Linked DNA regions of Homo sapiens: all the other regions are linked to region 1. Evidence: promoter capture Hi-C in 16 types of primary human blood cells and fetal thymus (Javierre and others, 2016). All regions are on one chromosome and are shown on one strand. The core of a region is centred on a gene start or on the middle of the fragment in contact, and the rest is flanking DNA. Distances in the headings are between cores, read along the strand shown. Region 1 holds the start of KLK2 (kallikrein related peptidase 2). Region 2 overlaps MYH14 (myosin heavy chain 14). Region 3 overlaps LOC124904746 (a long non-coding RNA gene).

Region 1 (3,379 bases), core at 484-2,983:
CACAGGGAGACAGAAAAGAGAGAGGGACATAGAGACCAAAACACAGTCATACAGACACAACCAGAGCCAGATACCAAGAGACACAGCGAGATCAGACACAGAGAGAAACCCAGGCAGCCATGGGGAGAGTGGTCCAGCCCCAGCTCTGCCTCCGGGTGCGACCTGGGCCAGGACCTTCCCTCTCTCCTTTAGTCTGAAGCCTCACCTGAGAAGTGACCCTGGGGGAAGCATCCCGCTGTTATTCCTGTGGGACACAGCCATTCCCTCCCCAGATCCCAGGGTCCTACTTACTTCTTTAGGCAATGGGCAGCTGTGAGCACCCACTGGGGGTGCACCAGGACACCCCCACAGTGTGCCCATCCATGACTGTACACAGCCACCTGCCAGGGTTGGGAATGCTTCTCACACTCCCAGCCTCCCACAATCCGAGACTGGATGAGGGGCACGGCACCTGCGGAGGGGGTGCTGGGTCAGGGGGATCAGACCCAAAAGAATTGGATAGGGGAGGGAGCTGAGCTGTGGGTTTGAAGAGACATGGGGGCAGAGGACCAGGACTGGGAGTCCAGGACACAAGCAAGGGGTCCTGGGAGGGCTGGCAATTCTGTAGCTATTCCCTGCGTTAGCGGGTTGGTGGCTGGACCAGGTCGGGAGGCTTCATGCTCTGAGAACGGAGCTGACCCCAGAGATCAGAGTAGGGGACATGGGAAACATCTGAAGCAGGCATCGGGTTGGGGGTTGGGTCATTTGGAGTGATTTGGGGTCTTACACTGGGAGAAGGGACACTGTGGTGGCAGCTGTGGGTTCTAAGAGAATAAGAGGTTCCAGAAACCAAGGATAAGTGCCCAGTGGAGAGGTTTAGTTGCTGGGAGAGGAAGGTTTTGGATGGTTTACCATGTCCAAGGTTAAGCAAACAGTTCTGCCTGAGTTGTTTCTTGCTTTGTTTTGTTTTGTTTTGTTTTTGAGGTTTTGAAAAGGGTGCGGATTTAGGGAATCAGAGAACTGGCCGTTGTGGTTGGGGGTGCTCGTGTTTTTCCCATGGAAAAAGCTAGCCATTGAATGACGGGTCTGGGGCAAAGAGTCAGGGAAGGAGGAGTTCTGAAAGTCCCAGTGCCAGACTCAGGGTGGGAGGCAGCATTTGTTGTCTCAGGCCAGATAGCCTCGGGGGGAAGAAGGAAGTGTCTGGTGGAATCTGGGTTTCCTGGGACAGGGTTGGGGAGCCAGGTGTCAAGGTCCAGGGGACAGGGTTGAATGCTCACAGCTGAATAGGAAAAGTCAGTAGACTGTGGTAGGACTGAGGGGCTCAGGAGGCAGCCCAGTGATAGGGTCCAAGGAACCAGTGGCATGGAGAGAGGTCCTTGAAAGGTTTTGAACCCCATAAAGAGAAACACAGAGATGCCCAGGAACTTGCTCTTTAGTAAAGCAGCTGGGAGCAGGGATTTGGCTGGGCAATGGAGAGAAAGGTCTGAGGTAAGTGGGAGGGAGCGGGGACCTAGTGTGGGCATGAGGACTATTGCAATGTGGAAGAGTCAGGGGCACATTGTCTGGGCTGAACTGTGGGCTGAAGGGACGAGGCTGGGGCACTGGGTGGGAGGAAAAGGGCTTCAGCATAAGAGTCAGAACCCGCCCCCCTTCCTTTATCCCCCCAATCTCACCAGTGCACCCCACAGACAAGGCGATGGAGAGAACCAGGTCCCACATGCTGACACAGGTGTCCACGGCCAGGTGGTGAGTTTGGGGCTGGGGGGCCTCCCTGAGGAGCCCTATAAAGCCTTCATTCTCCAGGACCCCGCCCTTGCCCTGTTGGCACCTAGATGCTGACCAAGGCCCTCCCCATGCTGCTGGAGGCTGGACAACCCCCTCCCACACCCAGAGCTGTGGAAGGGGAGGGAGAGCCAGCACTTGCTGTTCCACACATACTAGATCAGTCTGGAGGCATTCCCACGGTGTGAGGTCAGATTGGGCAGGGCCTATGGATCATGGAGATGTGATCTAGGGAACAAAGCCAGAGAAGGCAGGCTCAGGATGAACAGCAACAGGGGTTGGGATGATCACTGATTCTTTTTTAAAAAAATTCTGAGACAGTCTCACTCTGTTTCCCAGGCTGGAGTGCAGCGGCGTGATCGCAGCTCCCTGTAGCCTTGAACTCCCAGACTCAACCGATTCTCCTGTCTCAGCCTCCAGGATAGCTGAGACCACAAGCATGCACCACCACATCCAGCTAATTTTTAATTTTTTTGTAGAGAGAGGGTCTGGCTATGTTGCCTAGGCTGGTCTCCAACTCCTGGGCTCAAGCCATCCTCCCACTTCGGTCTCCCAAAGTGATGAGATTACAGGCGTGAGCCACCACGGCCAGCCCCAATCATTGATTTTCAATACAAAGTCTCATGTGCCTAAGTCCCAAGTACTTCCTTTGCACCCCAAACCTAATATGCCCTGAAATATCAGAATGATCGGATTGTGAGACTTCCTGGTCCCTATACCCGTCTGAGCCCAGAAGCTGGACCTCCAACTTACCATGTTCCTGAAATAGAAGCGTTGGCATTCAGTACTCTCTGATTCTTGCACTTCCACACTCAGAAAATGGTTCCCCACATACATTTCTCCCTCATCATAAAACCTTGTGATACCACATATTGTCCAATCCAGAAATATGACTCTCCCAGACCAAGTTCCCTATTATTTCAAAATCCAATGTCCACTAAACAATATGGGGTTCCGGTGGCTCCTCACTCCTCATTCTCCATGCCTGTACAACGTACAGGTACAGCGGGGATTCCTGTTGACCTGCCCTCCTAGGTCAGAATTGTCCTCATGCAAAATCCAATGCCTCCTTCTCACTGAAATGTCTAGCTATCAGGAGCCAGGTTTATACACTCCAAGATTAAGCTGCAAGCCAGGCACGGTGAGTGGCTCATGCCAGCAATCCCAGTGCTTTGGGAGTCCAAGGCTGAAGAATCACTTGAAGTCAGAAGTTCAAGATCAGCCAGGGCAACAAAGTGAGACCCTTTCTCTACAAAAAAAAAAAAAAAATTTAATTAGCCAGGTGTGGTGGCAAGCACCTGTAGCCCCATCTACTCAGGAGGCTGAAGCAGGAGGATCCCTTAAGTCCAGGAGGTCAAGGGTTCAGTGAGCTATGATCACACCACTGCGCTCCAGCCTGAGTGACAGAGCAAAAGACCCAGACTGTGTCTCAAAAAAAAAAAAAAAAAAAAAAAGAATTAGGGTGGCATTGAGAAATCTCATTTTGGTGTCTCAGAAAAGAATCAAGAATAAGAGTCCTGGTGTTAACTCTTATTATAAGAGTCCACTGTTAACTCTATAAGATTTCTTTGATTTTGAAAAAAAAAATGTGATTTCATCTGTTCAATAAAACCAGAGC
Region 2 (3,345 bases), core at 513-3,012, 590 kb after region 1:
CGCCTGAAGTCAGGAGTTCAAGACCACCTGGCCAACATGGTGAAACCCCATCTCTACTAAAAATACAAAAATTAGCCAGGTGTGGTGGCGCACACCTGTAATCCAAGCCACTCGGGAGGCTGAGGTGGGAGAATTGCTTGAACCCGGGAAGCAGAAGTTGCAGCAAGCCAAGATCACGCCACTGCACTCCAGCCTGGGCAAAAAAAAAAAAAAAAAGAAGAAGAAGAAGAAAAAGAAGGAGGAGAAGAAGAAGAAGAAAAATGACTTTCAATAGATATGCAAAAACAAGTCAGTGGAGAGCAGTGTTGGAATACTTGGATATTTATATTCACAAAAATTAACATGGAGCCATGATAGCATCATATGTAAAAATTAACTCAGAATAAATCACAGACCTAAATGTAAACTTGAAACTGGAAGACTTCCAGAAAAAAAAAACAGGATAGGCCGGGTGCAGTGGCTCATGCCTGTAATCCCAGTGCTTTGGGAGGCCGAGGCAGGTGGATCACAAGGTCAGGAGTTTGAGACTAGCCTGGCCAACATAGTGAAACCCTGTCTTTACTAAAAATAAAAAATAAAAAAAAAATAAAAATAAAAAAATTAGCCGGGTGTGGCGGCATGTGCCTGTAATCCCAGCTACTTGGTAGGCTGAGACAGGAGGAATCGCTTGACCCCAGGAGGCAGAGGTTGCAGTAAGCCAAGATCATGCCACTGCACTCCAGCCCGGGCAACAGTGCAAGACTCCGTCTCAAAAAACAAAACAAACAAACAAACAAAAAGAAAACAAGAAAAAAACCAGGATAAAACCTTTGTGACCTTGAGTTAGGCAAAAATTTCTTATATACAATACTAAAAGCACAATCTATAAAACAACAAATTGATAAATTGGACAAAATTAAAAACTTCTGTTCTTTGAAAGACTCTAACAGAATGGAAAGAAAAGCCACAGACTGGACAAAAATATTTGCAAAGCATATATCTGATAAAGAACTTGCATTTAGAATACATAAATAACTTCTTTCTTTTTTTTTGTTTTTTTTTTGTTTTTTGTTTTGTTTTTTTGAGACAGAGTTTCACTCTTGTTGCCCAGGCTGGAGTGCAATGGCATGATCTCGGCTCACCACAACCTCCGCCTCCCAGATTCAAGCGATTCTCCTGCCTCAGCCTCCCAAGTAGCTGGGATTACAGGCATGCACCACCATGCCTACCTAATTTTGTATTTTTAGTAGAGACGGGGTTTCTCCATGTTGGTCAGGCTGGTCTCAAACTCCCAACCTCAGGTGATCTGCCTGCCTTGGCCTCCCAAAGTGCTGGGATTACCAGGCATGAGCCACCGTGCCCGGCCCATAAAGAATTTTCAAAATTCAATAATAGTAAAACAAACAACATTAATTAACAAATAGGCAAAAGATCTGAACAGAAGCTTCAGCAAATAAGATATATGGATGGCAAATAAGCATATGAAAAGATGCTCAACGTCACTGGTCATTAGGGAAATGTTAATTAAAACCACCTTTGAGAAAGACTAAGGTTTTATCCATAACTAGAAAAAAACTGGAAAAAAACCCAAATGTTCATCAAAAGGTTAATGAATATCAAAATGTGGCTGATCTATACCACAGGAATAATATTCAGCAGCAAAAATACATTATTGATACATGGAATACATTATTGATATGCAAAAATATGGATGGATCTCAGACTAATTATTTTGAGGCTGGGTGCGGTAGCTTACTCCTATAATCCCAGCACTTCGGGAGGCCGAGGTGGGTGGATCACTTGAAGCCAGGAGTTCGAGACCAGCCTTGCCAAAATGGTGAAACCTCGTCTCTATTAAAAACACAAAAATTAGCCAGGCATGGTGGTGCACACCTGTAATCCCAGCTACTTGGGAGGCTGAGGCACGAGAATCGCTTGAACCTGAGAGGTGGAGGTTGCAGTGAGCTGAGATCGTGCCACTGCACTCTAGCCTTGGTGACACAGCGAGACTCTGTCTCAAAAAAAAAAAATTATTTTGAGTAAAATAAGCCCATCCCAAAAGAGATTTATGTGAAAATAATTTATATAAAATTCCAGAAGATGCCAAAAATAATAAAGCTTCAATGACCTGTGGAAGAGTATTACAATCAAATCATATGTATTTGGAGTCCAAGAAGAAGGGGAAGGAGAGAGAGTGGGAGATAAAAATATTTGAAGAAATAATGGCTGAAATGTTCCACATTTGATCAAAAACATCAACCCACAGCTACAGGAAGCACAGTGAATCTAAAGCAGGATAAATACAAAAAACCCACAGCTGGGCATATCACAGTCAAACCACTAAGAACCAAACATAAAGAGAGAAATCGTAAGTCAGCTAGAAAAACATACTGCACCACCTACAGGGAAATGACAATTTAAAAAAATTTTTTTTAATTTTTTATTTTTTTTTTGAGATGGAGTCTTGCTCTATCACCCAGGCCGGAGTGCAGTGGCACGATCTTGGCTCACTGCAACCTCCGCCTTTCCAGTTCAAGTGATTCTCCTGCCTCAGCCTCCCGAGTAGCTAGGATTACAGGCGCACACCGCCATGCCCAGCTAATTTTTTTGTATTTTAGTAGAGACGGGGTTTCACCGTGTTGCCCATGCTGGTTGTGAACTCCTGAGCTCAGGCAATCCGCCCGCCTTGGCCTCCCAAAGTGCTGGGATTACAGGCATGAGCCACAGTGCCCAGCTTCACACTGCATTTTCTAAATGAATAAAATAAAGCACAGAGAGGTTGAGCAATTTGCCCAAGCCACACAGCCATCAAGAGGCCGAATTGGGATCTGAACCTCAGGATTGCCTGATCTGAACTCTCTAAGGTTCTGTGATTTTTATTTCATCCTCAGGCTGCCAGATGCTTGGTATTATTGCCATTTTCCAGATGGGCGAACTGAAGCTGAGATGGAAAAAGCAACTTGCCTGAGGTACCCCGTGAATCAGCAGAAGTGAGATGAGTTATTTGATTTAATTCTCATAAGCAATCTCTGGGGTACTGAAGGTATTCGTATATTTTGTCATCCAAAAACCAGGGCAGCTCTGAAAGTAAAAGTGGGTGCTACGAGGAATTATGCTGTGGCAAGAGGCATGAATCAGGACAGAGGGATGTCCTATTTTACAGAGGCCCAGAGCAAAGAAGGGTCTTGCTTCCTGGTCCACTACAACTGCCTAGTTGAGCCGTGACAGCACGGATTACTGGTTCCTCACAACGACCATGGGAAGCGTAGATGGACTTGCTGATTCCCCGGCTGGGTGAACTGAGGTGCCCCACCTGGTCAAACTTGCGCTGCTTCTTCTCCAGGGTGCTCACAAGCTGCCGCTGCT
Region 3 (3,300 bases), core at 240-2,739, 690 kb after region 1:
AATTGCTAAGTATACCATTCAATGAGTTTTGACAAACGTATACACCCAACTAGAAAAAAATAGAACATTTCCATGTCCTAGAAAGTTACCTGACACTCTCCCCAGCCAACTCGCACCTCCACCCACCCCCAGGCAACTAATGTTCTGCTTTTTATCACCACAGATTAGTTTTGTCTGTTCTAGAGCTTTTTATAAATAGAATCCTATAGTAGATGATCTTTTGTGTTTCTTTCACTCCACGTAAAGCTTTTGATATTCATCCATGTTGTTATATGAATCAGTCATTTCTCTCTTTATTTTTATTTATTATTATTATTTTTTTTTTGAGACGAGGTTTTGCTCTTGTTGCCCAAGCTGGAGTGCAGTGGCACAGTCTCGGCTCACCGCAACCTCCACCTCCCGGGTTCAAGCGATTCTCCTGCCTCAGCCTCCCAAGTAGCTGGGATTACAGGCGCCCACCACCACGCCCGGCTAATTTTTGTATTTTTGAGACGGAGTCTTTTTCTGTCGCCCAGGCTGGAGTGCAGTGGCATGATCTTGGCTCACAGCAAACTCCGCTTCCTGGGTTCAAGCGATTCTCCTGCCTCAGCCTCCGGAGTAGCAGGGATTACAGGCACGTGCCACCACGCCCGGCTAATTTTTGTATTTTTAGTAGAGACAGGGTTTCACCATGTTGGCAAGGCTGGTCTCGAACTCCTGACCTCAGGTGATCTGCCTGCCTCGGCTTCCCAAAGTGCTGGGATTACAGGCACGAGCCACCACGCCCAGCCGAGAGACCCCTATCTCTACAAAATTAAAAAAAAAAAATTGCCAGACATGGTGGCACACGCCTGTAACAAAAAGAAATCAGTAGGTGACCCAGGTCTTGGCTCAAGGATTGCTTGAGCCTGGGAGGTCAAGCCTGCAGTGGCTGTGACTGTGCCACCACACTCCAGCCTGGGCAACACAGTGAGACTCTGTCGGAAGGAAGGAAGGAAGGAAGGATGGAAGGAAGGAAAGAAGGAAGGAAGGAAGGAAGGGAAGGGAGGGGAGGGGAGGGGAAGGGAGGGGAGGGAAAGAAAGAGAAAGAGAGAGAGAAAGAAGGGAAGGAGGGAGGGAAGGAGGGGAAGGAGGAGGAAGGAAGGAAGGAAGGAAGGAAAGAAGGAAGGGAGGGAGGGAGGGAGGGAGGGAGGGAAAGGGTTCGTAGATTAGTCCACAGAAATGTTACCATGTTTATTTCATAATATTTTACTGTGGTTATGAAAAGTTTCAACCTTTGGAGAAGCTTGGGTGAAGAGTGAGAATTCTTTGCATTATTTTGTATGAGAATTCTTTGCATTATTTTTGCAACTTTTTTGTTAAGTCTGAAATTATTTCAAAATAAAAAGGTTTTCAAAAGCCATATATGGCAAAACCTTCACATGCATCATATTTCTTTAACCCTTTCAGCACCATTATCTCAATTTCACCAACACAGAAACAGACTTAGAGACAGATAAGTAAGGGGCAGAGCTGGGATTTGAACTCATGTGAGTCTGATTCCAGTGCTCACATTTTTAAAAATTCAACACAATTTTTTAAGCACCTACCGTATGCTGGGCACTGTGCTGTGAACTGAGAATACCCCCATAGACAAGCCAGAGTGTCTGTCCTCCTGGATCTCAACTTCTCATGGAAGAGACAATGAACAAGTAAACAATAAAATGTTTGACATAATGTCAGGCGGTGAAGCTTTTATTTATTTATTTATTTATTTTATTTTTATTTATTTTTATTTTTTAGATGGTGTCTCGCTCTGTCACCAGGCTAGAGTGCAGTGGCACGATCTCAGCTCACTGCAACCTCTGCCCCCCCACCCCGGGTTCAAGCGATTCTCCTGCCTCAGCTTCCCAAGTAGCTGGGACTACAGGTGCCTGCCACCACACTTGGCTGGTTTTTGTATTTTTAGTAGAGACGGGGTTTCACCATGTTGGTCAGGCTGGTCTCAAATCGCTGACCTCATGATCTGCCCCACTCGGCCTCCCAAAGTGCTGGGATTACAGGTGTGAGCCATCACGCTGGGCAGGCAGTGAAGCTTTTAAAAATGCTGAACAAGGCTGAGCGTAATGGCTCATGCCTGTAATCCCAGCACTTTGGGTGGCTAAGGCGGGCGGATCATTTGAGGTCAGGAGTTCGAGGCCAGCCTCTACTCCTGTCTCTACCGAGAATCAAAAAGTTAGCCGGGCATGGTAGCACATGCCTGTAGTCCCAACTACTCTGGAGGCTGAGGCAGGAGGATCGCATGAGCCCAGGAGTTCAAGGCTGCAGTGAGCTATGATTGCACCACTGCACTGCAGCGTGGGCAACAGAGAAAGACCCTGGAGGGTGGATCACCTGAGGTCAGGAGTTCGAGACCAGCCTGGCCAACATAGTGAAACCCCATCTCTACTACAAAACTACAAAAATTAGCCAGGTGTGGTGGCACATGCCCGTAATCCCAACTATTTGGGAGGCTGAGACAGGAGAATCACTTGAACCCAGGAGGCAGAGGTTGCAGTGAGCCAAGATCGCGCCACTGCACTGCAGCCTGGGTGACAGAGAGAGACCCTGTTTCAAAAAAAATACAACAAAACAAGGCAACAGGGGGATAGAGAGAACATAGTAAGGAGCTGAATACTGAGAATAGGAAACAAAAGTACAGTGAAGGTAGAAGTTTTAAACCTCTGCGCTTTGGCTACCTGCGTCCCTAATTTGGTGCCTCCAAGTCTGAACTCTTACCCATTAAGCTAAATTACCTCCCACAGATGCCGTAATTAATCAGCTCTTTCCTTGACTCAGGGCTGTTATTACAAACATGGGTCATTACACCTATGGTTATTGAGCAATACTCTCTAGATCAGGGATTCTCACAGTTTCATATGCTCTAAAAATGTGCGTTGGTAAAAGCCATCAAATGAGCTCTGTGTGAGAAAGAGTAACTTTACAGAGGAGAAACTGGGTAGACAGCATCTTAAGCATGGGATCAAAGTTAGTATCACCCGTTGTGGGACCTGCTGACATCAGAGACCTCTTGATGTCATGCATCAAGGACACAGCATCCCTCCCGCAGTTAATGTTGTGAGGGATCTTAAAATTCTGATTCAGCAGGTCCAGGGTGGGGTGGAGGTTCTGTATTTTTAATATAAACTCCAGGTGATGCTGATGCTGCTACTTCATGGACCACATTTTAAGCAGCAAAGCTGGAGCTGCTTAAACTTGAGCAAAGCTGAAACCACCTCTAGGACTTGGTAAAATCCAGATTGTATAGATTGCACGGTGGCTCGTGCCTGTAATCCCAGCACT

What was found. Contacts are between HindIII fragments. The CHiCAGO score rates a contact against its expected background, and 5 or more counts as called.
Region 2: a fragment that was not itself captured here is called in contact with the fragment with the promoter of KLK2 in region 1 in 7 of 17 cell types (total CD8 T cells, naive B cells, non-activated CD4 T cells and 4 more); the score reaches 7.6 in total CD8 T cells.
Region 3: a fragment that was not itself captured here is called in contact with the fragment with the promoter of KLK2 in region 1 in 4 of 17 cell types (total B cells, naive CD4 T cells, monocytes and 1 more); the score reaches 8.5 in total B cells.

The regions. Positions count from the first base shown.
Region 1 is chr19:50,871,793-50,875,171 of GRCh38, reverse strand. KLK2 (kallikrein related peptidase 2) reads right to left here and starts at 1,733. Exons shown (of 5, transcript NM_005551.5): 1 at 1,653-1,733; 2 at 292-451. The coding sequence starts at 1,698. RefSeq lists a cis regulatory region at 1,895-1,909, an enhancer at 1,895-1,909 and promoters at 1,708-2,061, 1,708-2,333, 1,708-3,379. The HindIII fragment of the contact is 10,018 bases long and covers 1-3,379 here.
Region 2 is chr19:50,281,790-50,285,134 of GRCh38, reverse strand. It overlaps MYH14 (myosin heavy chain 14), which reads right to left. Exons shown (of 43, transcript NM_001145809.2): 33 at 3,293-3,345. Among named protein-coding and RNA genes, the nearest start is that of KCNC3, 46 kb to the left of the region's middle. The HindIII fragment of the contact is 674 bases long and covers 1,426-2,099 here.
Region 3 is chr19:50,180,863-50,184,162 of GRCh38, reverse strand. The region is part of intron 1 of LOC124904746 (a long non-coding RNA gene); the gene reads left to right. Among named protein-coding and RNA genes, the nearest start is that of IZUMO2, 19 kb to the right of the region's middle. The HindIII fragment of the contact is 446 bases long and covers 1,267-1,712 here.